Regions from separate parts of the Homo sapiens genome. Here all the other regions are linked to region 1. Evidence: promoter capture Hi-C in 16 types of primary human blood cells and fetal thymus (Javierre and others, 2016). All regions are on one chromosome and are shown on one strand. Each heading gives the region's core, a stretch centred on a gene start or on the middle of the fragment in contact. The rest is flanking DNA. Distances are from core to core; before and after follow the strand shown. Region 1 holds the start of JAG1 (jagged canonical Notch ligand 1). Region 2 has its middle 200 kb from the start of LINC02871. Region 3 has its middle 3.5 kb from the start of PARAL1. Region 4 has its middle 280 kb from the start of LINC02871. Region 5 holds the start of LOC124904960 (a long non-coding RNA gene). Region 6 has its middle 220 kb from the start of LINC02871. Region 7 has its middle 260 kb from the start of LINC02871.

Region 1 (2,700 bases), core at 192-2,691:
GTTAGCTGCCCTAGTTTATTCCTCAGAATGATGAGATTTGGCACTGAAAATATTGTTCATACTGAGCCTCCCATCAAATGCAATAAGTAGATAACCACAAATACCCACCCTTTTATGCTCATAACTCAGCATGTTGGAAACTATTTTCCCTTGACCTATTGCCAGCCCATCACGCCCCACACCCAGGAGAACTCAAGCCCCAAACCGGCCGCTGAATAGTCACGCTTTTCTGCAGGACATACCTACTATTAGGGCCAAAACTTTGTCCACCCTTCAAAGGAAGTCGATGTTTCCATATAAAGGTCCCCTCAAATGCAACAGCAAGCCCGTGGGAGAGGGGTTAGCAGAGGCTACGGCCAGCCCACGGGCTTTCTTCGACCTTGATTATGACCAGGAGTGTAGCTGTTAATTGCGAGGCTTGCCTCAAGGTGGAAAACAGTATCGGTTTCCACTGCCACCCCAGAGAAGGCAAGTTCCGCGGCTGGCGGTGCTGGGGACACGGTCCCTCCCAGGCCCATCTCTTGCCACCCAGAGAGCTGCTCGGAGGCCGCCTACAGGTGCAATCCCGGCACTGCGGCCGGGGCGTCGGGCCGGGGAGGGCGTCCAAGCCCACCAGCATCTCCGCCGGCCCTTCCCAAAGCCTGAACAGGGCCCCGGCGTGCCCGCCGCCTTCTACCCCCGGTTTCCCCGCGCCTCTGCCCCGGCGCGGTTTGGATAGGAAGCTGGGAGCCCTCCCAGGCTCCGCAGACTCGGATTTGGGAGGGGGTGGGACGCGGCCGAGGCTTCCCCTCGAATCTGCGGCAAGCCTGGCTCCAGGAAAGTTTTTCAAAGTTCCCAGCAGCGTCTGCCCAGGTCGCCTCCGCGGGGCGAGCAGACGGCGGCAAGCGCGCCAGCCTCGCCGCCGCCTCTGCCGCCAGCAGAGCGCTCTGGGCGGCTCGCTCGCGGGAAGCGGGCCGAACTCCCGGCGGGCAGGCAGGCCCTCCTCCCGGGGCGAAAGCCGCAGCTGACGCAGGCGGTTCGGAAGGCGGAAGCTGCCCCGCTCCGACCGCTCAGTCAGCGCCGCGGCGCCTACACCTGGGGCCCCGACGCGCGGGCAAAGGCGCACGGCCCGGGGCGCCCGAGGGGGCGGTCCCCGCTGGGGGCCTCCAGGCGTCCCTGAGCAACGATCCCTTCCAAGTACCTCCCCGCACTCTCCCTTCCCTCCTGGCCCGAAGCTCCCGAGGGCGGGGGTTGGTGTGGGGCCCTGGTTCTTCTACGCCGCCCTGAGCATCCCGCTGCCCCCAACCCCTTCCAAGTTCCTCCTCGCACTACCCCCTCCCCAGCAACGTGAAGGGGAGGGGCGTGCCCAGGGTGAGCACGCCCTCTCATGAATATTAATAAGCGCGCATGCGCCCTGCCCGGCGTGCTGGGTAGAGGTGGCCAGCCCCGGCCGCTGCTGCCAGACGGGCTCTCCGGGTCCTTCTCCGAGAGCCGGGCGGGCACGCGTCATTGTGTTACCTGCGGCCGGCCCGCGAGCTAGGCTGGTTTTTTTTTTTCTCCCCTCCCTCCCCCCTTTTTCCATGCAGCTGATCTAAAAGGGAATAAAAGGCTGCGCATAATCATAATAATAAAAGAAGGGGAGCGCGAGAGAAGGAAAGAAAGCCGGGAGGTGGAAGAGGAGGGGGAGCGTCTCAAAGAAGCGATCAGAATAATAAAAGGAGGCCGGGCTCTTTGCCTTCTGGAACGGGCCGCTCTTGAAAGGGCTTTTGAAAAGTGGTGTTGTTTTCCAGTCGTGCATGCTCCAATCGGCGGAGTATATTAGAGCCGGGACGCGGCGGCCGCAGGGGCAGCGGCGACGGCAGCACCGGCGGCAGCACCAGCGCGAACAGCAGCGGCGGCGTCCCGAGTGCCCGCGGCGCGCGGCGCAGCGATGCGTTCCCCACGGACGCGCGGCCGGTCCGGGCGCCCCCTAAGCCTCCTGCTCGCCCTGCTCTGTGCCCTGCGAGCCAAGGTAGGAGCCCTTCTCCGGGCCTCCCTCCCAGCCGTCCTCTCCCTCCCCTCGCGGCGCCCTGGGCGGTTGAGCCCCGCGAGCAGGCTCGGCAGCCCTCGAGCGCCCGACTCCTCGCCCCTGCGCCCGAGCGGCTGCACCTGGGCTGAGCGCGCCAACTCCCCCACGGGAGCCCCTGCCTCCTGAGGGTGACCCCTCCAGGCCGGACAGGGGCGCGTTCGCTCCGCTGTTGCCCCCCGGGAAGTCGTCGGATTTCTTCCGCACTCGTGCATTTTTTTTTTTTTTTGCCCCGGAATCATGTTGAGTCCTTGAACGTAGTTTCGCAAAATTATTTTCACTCGGCGAGGAGGGCTCGTCGGGGCGGGGAGTGGGAGGGAGTCGCCACCTCTATACTCGAAGAAAACAGCTTTCTCCCGCGCTGACCTACCTCCTTCCCTCGCCGGCAGGTGTGTGGGGCCTCGGGTCAGTTCGAGTTGGAGATCCTGTCCATGCAGAACGTGAACGGGGAGCTGCAGAACGGGAACTGCTGCGGCGGCGCCCGGAACCCGGGAGACCGCAAGTGCACCCGCGACGAGTGTGACACATACTTCAAAGTGTGCCTCAAGGAGTATCAGTCCCGCGTCACGGCCGGGGGGCCCTGCAGCTTCGGCTCAGGGTCCACGCCTGTCATCGGGGGCAACACCTTCAACCTCAAGGCCAGCCGCGGCAACGAC
Region 2 (2,700 bases), core at 135-2,634, 550 kb before region 1:
CAGAGGGAGTTCTTTGAAGGATGGTGCTTGTTAAAGTTAAAAGTAATACTAAATGTAATATATTAGTGATTTCTAAAATAGTTTTTTCTATAGGCACTTCTCATGCCAGAGTAATTACAAGATCAGAAAAAGTAAAACAGAATTTACCAGAACTCTTTTTATTAGTTTCCCATACAGTGCCAACTCTTAGATTAATTAGCAATCCAGATCTTCTGCAGTGTCGTTTGGGAATGTAATCTGAATGTTTAGTAGCCTGATCTTAAGGGAACTGACATGCAGGAGAAATTTCTCTGTCCTAATAATATATTTACCAAGACATTTAAAAGTGAATGATCCTACCATCATCTTATGCCCATTGAATCAAGTCACAGATTCCTGGTTTTAAATCCTAGGTTTATCTCTTAATAGTTGCATAATCTTGGTCAACCTACTTGACTACTCTGTGCTTCAGTCTCCTTATCTGTAAAATGGGGCTCTAATACCTATTTTATAGAATTTGCTGTGAGAATGGAATGAATTCTTGTATGCCTGGTGCTTGGCACATTGTAAGTGCTATGTTAAAAGGTTACCATTTACTATTACTGCTTGCTAGTGTGAACTGAAACCTCTTTCCTTCCCCCACAAACTTATTGTAAAATCAAGATAAAACCTTTATCATGGACATCATTTCTCTCTCCCTTTGGCTGATACTTCTGGTCCTTTCTATGCCATCATAGCAGCAACATATCAAGAGATGAGGGTTCAGCCTGATTATTATAGGAAAGAGATCTTCAATAAATCAGAAATTATTTATGGCCAAGAACAATTTCATTAACAGAAGCAGAATGACTGGGACCACCTAAAGGTTTGTTTTGGTTGCTCCAGATCTTTGGTTTTCAAATATCTCTCAAGTATTTTTATTTTTAAACATCAGAACCTGTGAAACTCATCACATATTTTATGGTGAAGGAAGTCTAACCTTCCTGCGTTATATTAGTCTACCCTTATTTGTAGATTAGACAAGGCCTAAGTAGATGAAATCCCTCTGGTGGCTGAAAAGCTGCTTGGTGGCAAAGCCACGAAGGTGCTCAGAGGCTGGTTAGTTAGAAGCCAAACTTGAATGTGCAGAGTTTCAAAAGAAATGGCTACAAGAGATCGTTTCACATCATGGGACCCCTCACTTTCATGAAAGAGATGAGATGAATCAGGGAGTAGAAAGGGAGCGACCAGTGAAAAGAATTATTTGTGGAGAGCCATGGGGTTGTGAGTTCCCCACCAACCTCCAGGCTGGTCACAGCACCTCTGATTGCTGCTTCTTTCCTCTGCCTGTGGTTCTCTCATTCTCCAGCCATTATCATCATTATCATCAGTGAAGGTGCATCCAGTTCATCACTGACTTGGGCACCCCACTCTGTTTGTTCAGATTCACACCATGTTCTTGGCACCCTTTACAATTGTGTCTAAACAAATGCAAAGTAGTCCTCAGTTCTGCTTCCTTTTTCTTCTTTTGTGGGTGCCCTCTGTCTCCACAAAGTCTGACAGCATTTCTTCAGAGTTTCCTAATGCCACTTCTTTCTGCCTTCTAACTACATATAATACCTTTTCTTTGATACGACACAATAGACGCCCACTCTAAATTTCATTTTTGATCAATTCTTATCACTCAACACTTTCCACATGCAAAATCCCTTCCACCGTAGCCTCTCCTGTATGTCTTAAATGTCACATATTTTTTTTTTATGCAATGCAAATCCCTGTCAGACTAAGCCATGAGTACTCTTTACGAAATTAGTTGCCCAAATCCTTCCCAAGCAATTGTTGAATAATAGCTTTAATTTGGGGCAGCACATGGATGTCTGGGCATGTGTTGGGATGGTAAAGAGGACAGATGAGGAAACAATTGGTCTATTATTTGGGGGATGACCTTGAAACACTATATCAGGTAGAAAGCTCGGAATTCAGCGGCAATATAAATGTACTGGACTTCTAGGGGAGGGTGGAGAGAGAGAGGAGATTCCTGAAAGGTAAAATCAGTACTTGAATAAAGATCTTCACTTATATCAGGACAATGCCGGATCTCAAAGTGTCTCCTTACATGGTCCACTACTGAGCTATTATTGACTCCTCCTCTTATCACTGACTGTGAGTACAGCCAAGAGCCCCTTTCTACCCATATGGAAAAAGGGAGATCATTACTCCTAACTAATAATATGGAAGAGAATAGAAAAAAATAAATAAACACAGAACAAAAACCAAAGTGAGCTTCCTTGAAGGTTAATTGAAACCTGTCTCCCGGGAGTAAAGTAGCTATTATTGATTGAGCCCTGAGATTTGATAGTATTTTGAATTAACTTGATTCCAATAAAGATAGAAGCCTTGATCCCGCTATCTTCAAATGCAGTTGCACCTGGAAGGTGCATTCACTTTGGATGTTACCTTCTTTTTCTGAGAACACTGTGTTGTGCAGATGTAATTTGGAATTAAAGTCTTCATCAATATAAAATCTGGCTGGCCCAGACAGACAGCAATCTTGGACACTGAATCAATTAATCACTGGGTTTTAATGGATAACTTCTTTCCCAGAGCTGAGGCCTAGTGGAATCGTATGTAAGAAATTAAATAACACAGCTAGGTGAGGAGATGAATTTAAAAAGCAGAACAGAAGATATCTAGGAAATGTCTTTCAAAGTCCCTTCATCTCTCTTCCCTATCTTTCTAGGA
Region 3 (2,700 bases), core at 165-2,664, 690 kb after region 1:
TATTAGCTAGGTGAATTGAAAGCAAAAATCAAACAAATGAAATGAGAAGAGTAATTTAGACAAAATGTAAAAACAACACACCTATAGGAAAAGAATGAAAAGGAAGTGTAGATAATTGTAATTATATTTTAGATATGAAATGTATTATACTCTACATTTTAGATATTAAATTTAGATTTTAAAATGTATTATAGTAATCAATAGTGCATTTTTTAAACTTAAGATCCAGTTTTAGAAATCACTGGGTAGTTTTCCACATATTACATTAAATAATAATTTTTAATAGCCAGTAGAAAATGGCATTGCAATGGTTAATACAGTGTACTTAGCTTTATGCTTAAGTAATACACACATGCTCCAATTTAACAAAGAGATAAATTTGGCAGTAATTTTTCTCACTAAAGAAGCTTGTCCTCAACTAAAAGAACCAATGGAGAATTTCAGAATTGAACACCCTCAAGTATTACCTCAAATTCAACTCCCTAATTTCACAGTACTTCTAGAGAAGTAACAAAGGCAGGGAAAGAATCTAGATTTTTCTAACTGCAATTTTTAAAGATTGAAGGAAAGTAAATTCACATGCAACATTTAATAAAATCAAATGTAGAGTCAACATTTCTCAGGAACATTAAGTAAAACTAAATAAATATTAGTATTAATTGGAAAAAATATTGAGTTCAGTCTTTCATAATGAAGTACTCTTCATTATGAGGGAGAAAACTCTGTTCCTTTAAGAATTTGTTCCATCAAAAATGCCTGTAAAATTGTCAGAGGAGCAGACAGAAATGTAACATCCGTATTAATCAACTGTCCTTTTGAATACTTGTTTTTAAATATGCTCCACTGTGTGATTTTAAAAAGAGAGGAATATATCCCACTTTCACTTTCAGTTGTCTTAATTTCCCTTTAGATCATCCTTCCTTTGGCCAAAACTTTGTTTTCTACTGATACTTGCATACAATTGCCTATGCTAATAGATTAAATTTCCTCAGCCTTTAAGGTACCTGATGGTAAATTTTAATTAAAAATAACTTCTTTTAAAGAATAGATTTTGAAAGGAAAGATAGAAAAGATTAAAAGATAGGAAAAGAGGAAAGGGGAATTGAGGCATTAAGAAACATCATGAAATTGAAGGCCAGGCCCGGTGTCAGGAGCCTGTAGTCCCACCACTTCGGGATGCCAAAGCTGGAGAATCACTTGATTCCAGGAGTTTGAGACCAGCCTGGGAAACATAGTGAGATCCTGGTCTCTATAAAAAATAAAAAAATAAGCCGGGCATGGTGGCTCATGCTTGTAGTCCCAGCTACTCCGGAGGCTGAGGTGGGAAGATCACTGGAGTCCTCACTGCACTCTATCCTGGGAGACAGAGGGAGGCTGTCATTGAAAAAAAAAAAAAAGAATTCAAAAAAAAGAAAGCAATACAGAACAGTTGGGCTCAGAGAAGATTATAGCAAACTTCACCTACTCTACAGATTTGGATCTCCAGGTGCCTGGCTAGTGAGAGACCATGAGGGCATGAATTGGGATTGTGGCTTTTCATGTCCTTCCACATAAAAGCAAGTGTGATTTCAATTGTAGATTGATTTGTGGCTCAAGACTAAAAGGATCACAGAAATTCTTTTTATCAAGTTCAAGAACTTTGGGTTCTTATCATAGAACAGATTTATGTAAAAGTTTTTAGATCTGAACTAAGTGTGGTAGAGAACAGTGCTTTAAGATATAAAGTAGTTTGCTGACATATATTTTATTGATGGATGAGTTTTTTCTGAATATAAATCAGATCTTATTTTTGACTGCCAAAAATCACGTTTAACTCTTCACCCTAAAGAGCTCCCAAAATATACTTCCAATTATTTAAGATGCATTTTAAACCAGTAGCAATGAAGACTTGAGTCAATTTTAAACTACTGCAGTTAACTCTTGCAGCTAAATCACCCATTTAATATCTCTTACTTTTCAGATCATCAAATCCCATAAGACTTACTATAAATCTTTTCACTTCCACCCCAAAATGACTTGGGCAGATACATTGTGAATTAAATGATGCTATAACTTGATTTATGTACATCTGGACTTTCAACCCAATGGCTTCCCAGAACTCAATCAATCTTTATGAAGTCCTGGTAACGTACTCCAAAAGAACTGCAATGCAGTGACTTATAAATGAAGCCTGGATTTTTGCCAATGTTACTAAATAAGGAGCTGTACGACCTGGCCCATGCTTTATAGCTGCTGAAGGAGGAGCAATTCCACTCTGGGCTCAGCAGCTCCCTGGGCTATGTTTCCTGCCCTCTCAAGTCAACTACCATGCCCTGAAATGACTTTTAATTTTTTTCACTGTGCCACTGCTGAGAAAAGTAGAAAAGAGTTTCAATGCTTAGACTCCTTGAATATTTCTTTTATAGAGTTAGTTGAAGCTTCTACAGCTTGCTTGTATTTTCACCCTATTAATTTATTCAGATAGGAGCCTCCTTATGCCTAATATAATGTAATTCAGTAAGTCTGATCATTGTATTATCATTCCCAATATTAGGGGACTCTCCATCCTTATAAAGGATTAAACTTTCCTTCCCCATTGACATCAGGCTTGCTTTGGCCAATGAAATGTGGTCAGAAATGTCAGAAGCCAGTTCTGAGCAAAAGCTCTAAGAACCACTCTGTGGTTTCACATCATTTTCTTCTCACAGCCAGGGGCCTGGT
Region 4 (2,700 bases), core at 118-2,617, 630 kb before region 1:
AAACCAACTTAAGCTAGAAAAAAAAAAAAAAAAGAACTCTTATAACTGAAAAGCCTCAGGGATTCAAGTCCCAGGTTCAGGTTAGTCAGGATTAAGGCACCCAAATGGTGCTTTCTCCTCATCTCTTGGCTCTGCACTTTTCCCATCTGCACTTCATTCTCAAGAAATCCCTTGCCATGTTTCAGAAAGATGGCTAGCAGCAGTCTAGGTTTAAGTTCCATCACCTTAGCTATCCTAACAAAAAATGCTTTTCTTTTCTAATAGTTTCAGAGAAAAAGAAAAAGTTCCTTGCCTAATACTCAATGATATGGATTGGTTCACATCCATATCACTGAACCAATTTATGTGGCCAGGAATGTTGACTGCCTCCAGATCCACAGGACAGAATTAGGCCCACTCAGCTGAGATGGCGCCACTGCACTCCAGCCTGGGCGATAGAGTGAGACTCCATCTTAAAAAAAAAAAAGAATTAGGCCCACTCAATCCACATGAACCAGGGTTTCAGGAAAAGAGGCTCTCCAAAGCAAAACGAAAGGAAATGAGTGTTTAATAGAAAATGCACCAGCAACTCTTCAGTCCCTACCATGCAGTGTCTGTCGTATAACTTTTGCCTAATAAATATTAGCTGAATGAATAAAGCAAATCAAGCACAGTTGCTGTCACAAGAGCAGGTGATGAAAAGGAAGAGGATGATGGAGCCGCTTGCTTGAATGAAGGAACTTGGTCTTGAATCCCATTTCCATCATTTACCACCTGGGCACTATAGGTAAGTTACTTAAATACCTTGATCTTCAGTTTTTTTTTCACCTATTGAATTGTGATACTGATCCCTAACCACCAGGGATTTTGTGAGACACATGTATTAACAAATATAAAGCGTCTACATTTGGGTTGGCAGAGAACAAGCCCACAAAAGTTTTTCATTCTTTCCTTTCTCCTTCTACTTCCCAACTTCGGCACTGCCTATGAGTCAATTCTTCCCGCTTTGTGTTTTGAGATGGGAGCTACATTTGTTTGGATTCTGGAGCACTATTTCCCCAATGTTTTTCTATGGAAATCTGAACAACTGCCAATCAGACAGGTAAAACGAGAGAGAGAGGGAGAGACAGAGAGAGACAGAGAGAGAAAGGAGAGGGAAGAGGACTGAATTTGAGAAAAAAATGGGGGAAATCAGTTATGAGTCAGGTGAGGTTGATAGATATACCACATGCTCTCCTTTCTACACCACCCAGAGGAAGCTTGAGCCAATAATATCCTTTCTATTCAGCTCACACCTGCTTCTCAGGGAGCTGCAGTGCAGTTAGCACAATGAACTTGGCTGTATTGTTCTGTGCTATTTCCTCCTGCCCTAGCCTGAAACCGCATTTCAATCAATTGCTAATGTCAGCGTGGGAGTCATAATCCTGGTTTAGAGCTGCTGCAAGTTACCACATCTCCATGGGTCAGAAAAGGAGTTTGACTGTTGAAGGGTGTATACCTGAGAGACACAAAGCTTTCTGTTTCCTCCCAGGCAATGAGCTACAGCAAGATCCAACCCAATCAGTCTCATAAAATACCTTCCTTCTTGCCAGGGAAGAAGTTAACTCTGCAGCTAGGACCTCTGCCAGGTTATCAAGATATCTGGAAATTAATGTACCCCCAATTCTTGTTACCTTTCTTTGCATAGAAATCTAGCCTAACATCCACACCTTACAGAGGTATGTCTAAAACTGAAATGGCTTTTTAAAATTTGAATTTTGAGGTTGCATCAAGCATGGAATATGTATTTCTATGCCACATTATCGAACATGTCACCATGAAAATAGTTAGTGGTATGATAAAGAGCTCCAAGGAGAGCTCTGAATGATGTTTGGAGACAGTACGAATGAAGATCTAATTCCCAAGTGACATGGCATTACCATACCCATGAGATGTGTCAAAGTGCATCAGCATTTTCAGTGTGATATTATGTGCTTGTCAGTTAGTTTCAGTTTTATCTCTAGTGATAGTCAATTATCCTAATCAAAAATGCAGATCCCAGGGGTGCTGGGTTGGCACTAATCACAGAGTGCCAGACTGCAGGGGCAGCTGCCACAAGCTCATCTCTTACCTCTATCTTGATCGTGGCTTTTCTAGTCAGTAAACTGAATGTGAGAAATATTGGTGAAAGCAAGTGGCTTGTTGACAAGCAAGGTGAGTACCAGAAATGGGCAAAATTGAAGACTATAGATATATTAGATACATTCCCAATCATACATAAACAGAGAATTTGAATTCATTGAGTATAAATAGAGGGCTCAGTTGCTAAGTGATGCTGTATCCAGCCATTAGTTTTAGAGGATACCTGAGCCCAATTCCAGAAGAAAAGATCTCTGGAATGTTATGTCTCCCTGAAATGAACTAACATGCAAGTAGTGGTTGGGGCACCTACAAGAACAGAGAGCTGGAATGTCATCAAATTTATAGACAAGTTTTATGAACTGCTTTTATAAATTAATGTCCACATGTGTGATGAAATTTGGTTTAAGGCCTGATTTTATTATATAGCCTGGCAGTGAAGTTGTGGGAGAGTAACTAACACTCACTTACCTCGAACTCTTTTTAGTGGCTGCCACCATCTACCCAAATAACCTAAAGTAGGGCATAATTAATTTAGTTCAGTTAATAACACATGGTTTTTAGGAAATGTGTGCCATTTTTATTTTTCACCCATCTTCATTT
Region 5 (2,700 bases), core at 98-2,597, 590 kb before region 1:
TTAAGCTTCTTCACCCAGAAATTGTTACAAATAGAAGGGAATCTGACTTTGAGCTATGAGTTGTTGCTTCCCCATGACTGAATTCCCCAAGAACTGAGTTATTACTGACCTGTGATTTGCTCATCATAAGGTCTCACTGTTAATTACTGCTCTCTGCTCCGCAGAAACTTTGAATTCCACCAAAGGGTGTGCCGAAGGCTTAGATGTTGAGAAGCGTGAATTCATCCTGCACAACAAATATCATAGAGATGGGACTGGAGCGGGGGACAAGAAGGGGGAGAATGAACAAGATGCATGTTGCAAAACCCCAAGGGGTGCTATTTGTATGGTAGCCTGAGTGAACAGCAATTTCCCTGAGGGGTGGTTGCAGCAGATACTGTGGGTACCATCTCTACATCTCTTACTCCTTACTCGTTCCTGCCTTACTCCTTCAGGGCAGAGCAGCCCAACTTACTCTTTGCCTAAGGACAGTCTCTGGTATCTAAGTCTAGGTTAGCCACTCATGGCAGGCCAGATGAATGATTGCTAGGAGTCTTGCATATACACCCGGTTTCCTTGCCACTTGGATAGGATAAAGGTGCTTCACCCCATTTTCCAGCAGTCTCCAGCAAGTCTAGGTTCCACTTGCTCACAGCAGTAGCTGATTTTGTGAAACATCCTTTCTGGGCTGCCTTCCTTTCTCTCTCTCCCTTTCCCTCTCCCATCTCTGATTTTCTTCTACTTCCCCCAATATATTAATATTATCTCAGGGATGGCTTTTGGGAACCCCAATCAAAGAAAGGAGCAAACTCAATTAAGACCCTCTGTTTTAGGTAACTTTGGGAACCTGGTGGAGCATCCTGACATTACATCCTGAACCAGAGTATGTCTCAAGATATTTTTGGATCCTGCTTTTGTGGAGACAGAATCCACAACACAGCAGAGAGTTCCTCACTCCAAGAGGTACATTCTTCTTACTGTCTGGTTCACTCCCTAGACACATGCCAGCTTGACCATCATACAGAGCAGCCCCCAGGATGAAGGCAAACTTCTATCTGGAGTCTGATCTTTCCAAGATAGGGCTGAATCAACTTAGCTCTTTTTTCTTGTGGCTCATTGCTGCTTTCCAGATTGAGAATAGCCTCAGATTTCTTTCTGGCTTCCATATACCATGCATCCTATTGCTTTGCTTATACTCTTACCCCCCAATGTCAAAATAGTCCTGAAGTGTATACCAGATCATGTCACACATATGCAGAACTGATCATGTCAGTTCAACCTTGGCTCCAAGAATAAAGCTGTAAGTCCTATAACCACAAGGCCTTAGGGTGACTTGATTCCTGAAGGCTACTCCAATATCATTTCTTCTCATTTTCCTCATCACACCTTGCCTTTCTTTGAACGTGGTGACATATTCCTGCTGCAGAATTTTGCATTGGCTGTTTCCTCTATCTGGTGCACTCTTTTTATTGAAGGTGCACTCTTACCTAACCTAACTCATGCTTTTGTGCAAATGTCACCATCTCAGACAGGCCTTTGCTAACCATCCCAGCACCCCTTTAATTTATTATTGCTTACTTTAATTGTTTCTCTTTATAGCTGTCAGCACCAACTGACATTATATGTACTCGTTTGGCTGGTTTTTGTTAGTCTTTCCATGACAATGTAAGCGCCACTGGCTCATCACTAACATCATGTGCCTGGCACACAGAAAGTACTCAATTAATATTTATATGGTTGCTGAATTAATATATGGTGTTACCTTTAAAGAGAAGCGAAGTAATCTGTAAATGCTTTTACTAAAATAATCATTTACCTGCAGACTAGGTATTTTAAAATATAGTCTATTTCCTGTTATAGATTGATTTATTTTTAAAGTATTGTCTCCTTACTCTTTAAAGATACATTTTCCCTGTTTTCCAAATTAGTTATTTTTTCTTTTTGATTATTCATTCCCAAGTTAGGAGAATGTCTAAAACTTGAGATGTACTGACTGACAAATTAACTAACAAAGAACAGAAATATATACCTCAAATTGCACTGCTATCATCTATGATCATTTATTTATTCAGCAGATATTAATTGAGCGTTTACTATATCTCAGACACCGCTGTACATATTCAGAGAATACAACAGCCAAAGATTTCTCACCTCAAAGAACTTATACAGAAAAGACACGCAATAAAATGTAAACATGATAAATGAATTATTTTATTTTATTTTATTTTATTTTTGAGACAGAGTTTTGCACTTGTTGCCCAGGCTGGAGTGCAATGGCGTGATCTCGGCTCACCGCAACCTCTGCCTCCCGGGTTCAAGCGATTCTCCTGCCTCAGCCTCCCAAGTAGCTGGGATCATAGGCATGCGCCACTATGCCCAGTTAATTTTTTGTATTTTTAGTAGAGATGGGGTTTCACCATGTTGGCCAGGTTGGTCTGAAACACCCGACCTCAGGTCATCAGCCCACCTCGGCCTCCCAAAGTGCTGGGATTACAGGCGGGAGCCACTGCACCTGACTGATAAATGAATTATTTAATGTGTTTGAAGGATACACTAGGGTGGTCAGGGGAGGCTTCACTAAGTTGACTTCTGGGCAGAGCTTGAATTAGTGAGTGTGAATGTGAAGCCATGTGCATACATGTGGGAGGAGCACTCTAGACAAAGAGCAAGGCCAAGGCAGAGGTTCTGAGGTGGGAGCATGCCAAGCTTGTTATAGAGGGC
Region 6 (2,700 bases), core at 4-2,503, 570 kb before region 1:
AGCAAGATTATGTGACAATGGGGTCTGCATCCCCTCCCCTAGCATGCCTGGCCACAGGGCTGCCTGCCTAAGCTTATCCACAGCTGTTGCCCAGCCAAGAGCTGTGGAGACGCAGCCCTACCCTGCCCCACCCGGGAGCCAAACCTTGGTGGCATGAGCTCTTCATCAATCTCCATTTCTCCCACCAAACAAGAGTCACTAAAACCTCATTTGTGCCTCTCGGCCACTCGGGGATCTGCTCAAACTTTTCTGTTCTTTGGAGGAGAATGATGTGGACTTAATTAAGTGTGGTAACTTATGTGTAAGGCTGTATTGATGGAGGAAATGGGGTGCAGATGTGGTGTGAAATGATGGCGAATTACTCTTGTGAAGAACACAAATCAGGGTGAGTGCCCATTATCTCAGGCCAAAAGAAGTTATTGGGCACTCAATTATCGGCTTCTTTGTCACCGTAGCACACCAGATGGTTACAACACTGAAGAGTTTTCTATTATCATAACATTTTCCTAGAGTGTCTTTTCTTCTTCTCCAATTCACCATAAGATGATTACCTTCTTACGGGCAGCTGATTGTTGAGAAGGGTGCTGGGGGGTCATGCACAGATTTAGTGGGGAGTGGCAGATAAAGAGACAACAGGCTGTGTCTTTAGCACGAGAGTCTGTTGATGGACTCTGCTGGGATTCCGGCCACCCCATAATAGCTCATGTGAAATGACTGCTTGGTCCCCTCTCCCTCTGAATCTGCCACTCCCCCTCTGCCCCCAAATCTAGAAGACACAGTGTTCAAATGTGACCGGCTGCTCTACCTTCTGTCAAAGCATTTCCAGCCAAGTGAGCAGTTTTCTTTTAAGGAACTGAGTGGCCCTCAATAAAATTAATTCCCACTCATTGGCAGCATTGAGGCGCCAGGTGAGGACAAAAGTAAATGAGCTTGTGAATATAGGGCTAGTCATTAACTCAGGGCACCCAACTCTATCATCTGCCCCTCCCTCCCTGGCTCCAGAGAAGGGAGAAAAACAACAGCTTCATGGTAAATAAATAAATGAAACCACACCATGAAAACCTCTGAAACAGCAAGCCCTGACTGGATGCTTACCGAACTTGGGATGACTGGAATGACCCTGGGCCCTGAAGAATCTTCTTTATAAGAGAAAAGACAAAATGAGGACATGTCAAAATCACAATTTAATGCTTTGCTCATTGCTGGATTACTGTTTGGAAAAAACGACTTTCCACAGAAGTCAAGGTGATGCTTCTAAACATGGATTCCAGATTGGCCGACTCTAGAACTCATAAGAAGATGGGAGGATTCTTTCCCCACCCAGCCCCACTACCTGAGCCTATGCCCTAGGTTCTCATTGTCTCTCTTTTAATGCCTCTTCTCTCAATAGAGTTGTAATATGGGATAGCTCAGATTCTACGCATGAAGAGTAAAAGACCCTCTTGACCTTTTTCTGTAGTGAACTGTTGTCTCTGAAGTTAACTGTTGTTATGGTTGCATCTGTTTGCTAAACATAATGATGGTACTACAAGGAGTATTGCCTTTGTGACTTTCTTGCTTAAGACAAAAGCATAGCCCTGGTGGTGTCTGCTGGAAACCCGATCATGTGGTTTTCAAGGCTGGCACCCACATCCTACTTTGGGGTTAGCCAAATAAAACTATATTTTGGTTTGGTATTGCTAGTGCTGAGGAAATGGCGGGTATGATCTCTGGTTCAGAGTTTATGTTTACTTAAACTGCGGCTACCATGAGACACACGTCCATTTTCCATGAGTGAACAAAAGCCTCCCCTTCCTGCCCCCTCCCCTACTGCTTCCAAAGGGAACATTTTGCCCCTCTCATTTTTGTAGGTGTTTTCTTATTTAAAGCTACAGACTCCATAACGATGTGGGCTCATCCAAAGAAAAATCAAAATGATGCCAATTATAGCCTAGAAAGTCAACCCTGAACAAACACCCAAGGCTGCTTATTATCTACAGACACATAAAGCCACGAACATGCATTGAATAGATCCAATTTCAACCTTGTCTTTTCTTTAATAAGTGAAACAAGCTGTACCAGTAAGTAAATAATCAAGTGGTGATAATATCTGGTTTTCTAAGCATGCAGCAGAAAGATCCATTTTTCTTTAATAACAATAACCACAAAAGAGCTCATCAGAAACCCCCAAACCTGATTTTGGCTGCAACTAGAAAAGAATGTATGTACATGACCTCAGACCCAGTTACCACATGTTTATAGCCAAATGCTTCTTTTACTTAATTCCAAAGAGGAATCTAAATATCTTTCAAATATATTTTCATGTGACATACACAATCAAACCATATAATTTATCAAACAATGAGAGAAGTTAGTTCAAAAAAGACAAAATTAAAGAGAAGATAAGATTGTACTGCTCACTAATGCCAGATAAATTCTTGAGATTGAAGCTTGAGATGCATGCCATTCTTCTCTCTATTGTACCTATAATCTCTATTGTACATAAAGGCAACAGATTTTCAAAACTCTCAATGAGAGAAAAATGTTCTGTACCACTGGACAAGCTCATGACTTCCACTTCCAACAAGTGGTTATTGTCTTGAAGGTCATCCCTAAAAGTTATTTCCTAACTTTAGTAATGGGTAGAACAAGAGAATTGTTTGCTGCTGACACATGTTCAGAGTAGAGTCCCAGGAATACAAAGTGTGACAAAGACATGAT
Region 7 (2,700 bases), core at 77-2,576, 610 kb before region 1:
ATAATTGTTGGCATTACTATTATATTAAAATCTATGACATCATTTCAAGGCAATATTTTAACATCATTATTATCAGTATGATGTGTTTTCAATATCTAATTTGTTAATTGAGGACAAAGTTTCATTTCTCTATTCATTGACATACAATATAAAGAGTAAAAGTATTATAAATTGAACAAATTTGTTCCCCAGAGTTCTAAATATTGATTGAGATACATTGTTCTTAAATTTAACATATCAAACTCTGTTTCAAACATCTTAGAAAAACAGTCTGGACACATCTCCAAAACCAGTGACTAAAGGCTAAAAACATTGATTTAAAATCGTTTACCTTCCCTGTGTGTAACTTCATTTTGCTTCTCTCTTAATATAAAATTTTACACTTAATCTAAAAAGTGAAGGCACTTTCTCCAACTATCTAACATTGCATTCCAAAGTAATATTTTTCCTGAGTGAATTTATTTTGTAGTGGCTAGATAGATAGGATAGAATAAATTTTGTTCTCCTTTTTGAGCAAATTTGATCTTAAATTAAATACATTTTTAGGCTTTTTGTAGGGTTTTCAAATAAAGTGAAATTAGATTGCTATATTAAATTATCTATTATGTCCTAGAAATCAAGTCATATTTATTTATAAATTCAGGTATATCCACGGGTTGCTGATTTATTGTATTCATTGGATTTGACCCTGAATGGATTGTAATTGTTAGTAATATATCAACTCATAGTTTCTACCATTAAAGGAAGTCAAATACATGCATGAAATATGCTAACTAGAATCCCCCAGACTCTTCGATGAATGATTCAGTGCATTGTAAGATGACCGGGAAAGCCTCTTAAGACACCAGATATGAAGGGGAAAACTTTTATGTAGGTATGCCTGTTGATATAATTAATCCTATTACTGTACAGTTATAATGACATCAGACATCAAAGATGAAATTGAGGGCATCATGAACTTTGAATTAATGCAATACAGAAAGGCTACTCAAGAAAGTGAATTTTGAATTGTTTTAAGGAAATTGATAGAAATGCTGCTAGTTTAAATTAATTTGAATAAAACAATAGTTTATGTAGATGACATATGTCCGAAATATCTACACAATCCCCCCTTCTGTTTTTCGCACTTCCTGATTGTATACCAAAAATGTGGGTACAAATGTTTCATGTCTGCCCCACGCGGTGTGAAACTTCAGCCTCATCTTCACATATGGCAACATTAAAGTAATGAATGATCTTTACTTCATTGCTTTCTACTCTTTAATTTATTTTTTCCACATTTTTCAGGTATAATTGATGAATAAGAATTGCATATATTTACAGTGTACAATGTGATAGTTTTGACACATTATACATTGCAAAATGATTGCCACCATCAATCTATTAATCTATCACCTGATTAACATATCTATCATGTCACCTCACATAGTTATCTTTGTGTGAGTGGTGAGAACATTTAGCTGTACTATCTTGGCAATTTTCAAGTACATAATATTTTATACATTATCATTACATTATTATTAACTATAGTCACCATGCTGTGCAATAGATCTCCAGAACTTATTTATGCTGCATAACTAAAATTTTGTACCCTTCGACCAACATTTGACCCCATCCCTCCTCCAGCCCCTGGCAACCATCGTTCTACTCTTCAACTTTTAAAAATTCCACATGTGAGATTAAGCAGTATTTGGCTTTCTGTGCCTGGCATCTTTTGTTAATAGTGTTCTCCATGTTTATCCATGTTGTCACAAATGTCAGAATTTCCTTCTCTTTAAAGGTTGAATAATATTATCCACTGCATGAATCTATTCACTTGTCTCTCAGTGAACACTTAGATTGAATTGTCATCTTGGTTATTGCAAATAATGCTGCAATGAACATGGGAGAGCAGGTATTTCCTCAACATAACGATTTCATTTGTGTTGGATATACACCCAGAATTGGATTGCTGGATCATATGGTAGTTCTATTTTTAATTTTTTGAGAAACTGCCATACTGTTTTCCATAACAGTTGTACTAATTTAGATTCCCACCAACAATGTGCAAGGGTTCCCTTTTCTCCACACTGTTGCCCAGGCTGGAGTGTGTTGGCACGATCTCGGCTCACTGCAGCCTCTACCTCCCATGTTCAAGCCATCCTCCTGTCTCAGCCTCTGGAGTAGTTGGGATTACAGATGTGTACCACCTCGCCTGGCTAATTTTTGTATTTTTAGTAGAGATGGGGTTTTGCCATGTTGGCCAGGCTGATCTCAGATTCCTGATCTCAGGTGATCCACCTGCCTTGGCCTCCCAAAGTGCTGGGATTACAGGCATGAGCCACTGCACCCAGCCTATTTTTTGTCTTTTTGATCATAGCCCTTCTAACAGTGTAAAGTCATATCTCACTGTGCATTTAATCTGAATTTCTCTGATGACTATTAAATCATATTGCACTCTTTTTCATATACCTGTTGGCCATTTGCTTGTCTTCTTCTAAGAAATATCTATTCAGGTCCTTTTTCCATCTTTTAATTGGGTTGTTTTCTTGGTATTAAATTGTTTGTGTTCCCCCTATATTTTGAAGATGAACCCTTATCCTATGTGTATTTTACAAATATTTTCTCCCATTTTGTAGATCATTTTGTTACTCTGCTAATTGCTTCCTTTGTTGTGGAGAAGCTTTTTGGTTTGATGCAGTTCTATTTGTTTATTTTTGC

The links. Contacts are between HindIII fragments. The CHiCAGO score rates a contact against its expected background, and 5 or more counts as called.
Region 2: a fragment that was not itself captured here is called in contact with the fragment with the promoter of JAG1 in region 1 in 3 of 17 cell types (endothelial precursors, M1 macrophages and M0 macrophages); the score reaches 7.1 in endothelial precursors.
Region 3: a fragment that was not itself captured here is called in contact with the fragment with the promoter of JAG1 in region 1 in 2 of 17 cell types (monocytes and M1 macrophages); the score reaches 7.6 in monocytes.
Region 4: a contact is called between a fragment that was not itself captured here and the fragment with the promoter of JAG1 in region 1, in 1 of 17 cell types (endothelial precursors). The highest score is 5.2, in endothelial precursors.
Region 5: a fragment that was not itself captured here is called in contact with the fragment with the promoter of JAG1 in region 1 in 4 of 17 cell types (M2 macrophages, M1 macrophages, endothelial precursors and 1 more); the score reaches 15.9 in M2 macrophages.
Region 6: a fragment that was not itself captured here is called in contact with the fragment with the promoter of JAG1 in region 1 in 4 of 17 cell types (M1 macrophages, M0 macrophages, M2 macrophages and 1 more); the score reaches 6.7 in M1 macrophages.
Region 7: a contact is called between a fragment that was not itself captured here and the fragment with the promoter of JAG1 in region 1, in 4 of 17 cell types (endothelial precursors, M2 macrophages, M1 macrophages and 1 more). The highest score is 13.0, in endothelial precursors.

The regions. Positions count from the first base shown.
Region 1 is chr20:10,672,740-10,675,439 of GRCh38, reverse strand. It overlaps JAG1 (jagged canonical Notch ligand 1), which reads left to right and starts at 1,441. Exons shown (of 26, transcript NM_000214.3): 1 at 1,441-1,990; 2 at 2,434-2,700. The coding sequence starts at 1,910. RefSeq lists a silencer at 819-1,218. The HindIII fragment of the contact is 5,598 bases long and covers 1-2,700 here.
Region 2 is chr20:11,223,952-11,226,651 of GRCh38, reverse strand. No RefSeq gene overlaps it. Among named protein-coding and RNA genes, the nearest start is that of LINC02871, 200 kb to the right of the region's middle. The HindIII fragment of the contact is 3,439 bases long and covers 1-2,700 here.
Region 3 is chr20:9,981,457-9,984,156 of GRCh38, reverse strand. No RefSeq gene overlaps it. Among named protein-coding and RNA genes, the nearest start is that of PARAL1, 3.5 kb to the left of the region's middle. The HindIII fragment of the contact is 2,010 bases long and covers 410-2,419 here.
Region 4 is chr20:11,304,216-11,306,915 of GRCh38, reverse strand. No RefSeq gene overlaps it. Among named protein-coding and RNA genes, the nearest start is that of LINC02871, 280 kb to the right of the region's middle. The HindIII fragment of the contact is 254 bases long and covers 1,241-1,494 here.
Region 5 is chr20:11,263,542-11,266,241 of GRCh38, reverse strand. LOC124904960 (a long non-coding RNA gene) reads right to left here and starts at 199. Exons shown (of 2, transcript XR_007067724.1): 1 at 110-199. The HindIII fragment of the contact is 2,680 bases long and covers 8-2,687 here.
Region 6 is chr20:11,245,523-11,248,222 of GRCh38, reverse strand. No RefSeq gene overlaps it. Among named protein-coding and RNA genes, the nearest start is that of LINC02871, 220 kb to the right of the region's middle. The HindIII fragment of the contact is 2,357 bases long and covers 75-2,431 here.
Region 7 is chr20:11,282,696-11,285,395 of GRCh38, reverse strand. No RefSeq gene overlaps it. Among named protein-coding and RNA genes, the nearest start is that of LINC02871, 260 kb to the right of the region's middle. The HindIII fragment of the contact is 2,677 bases long and covers 1-2,664 here.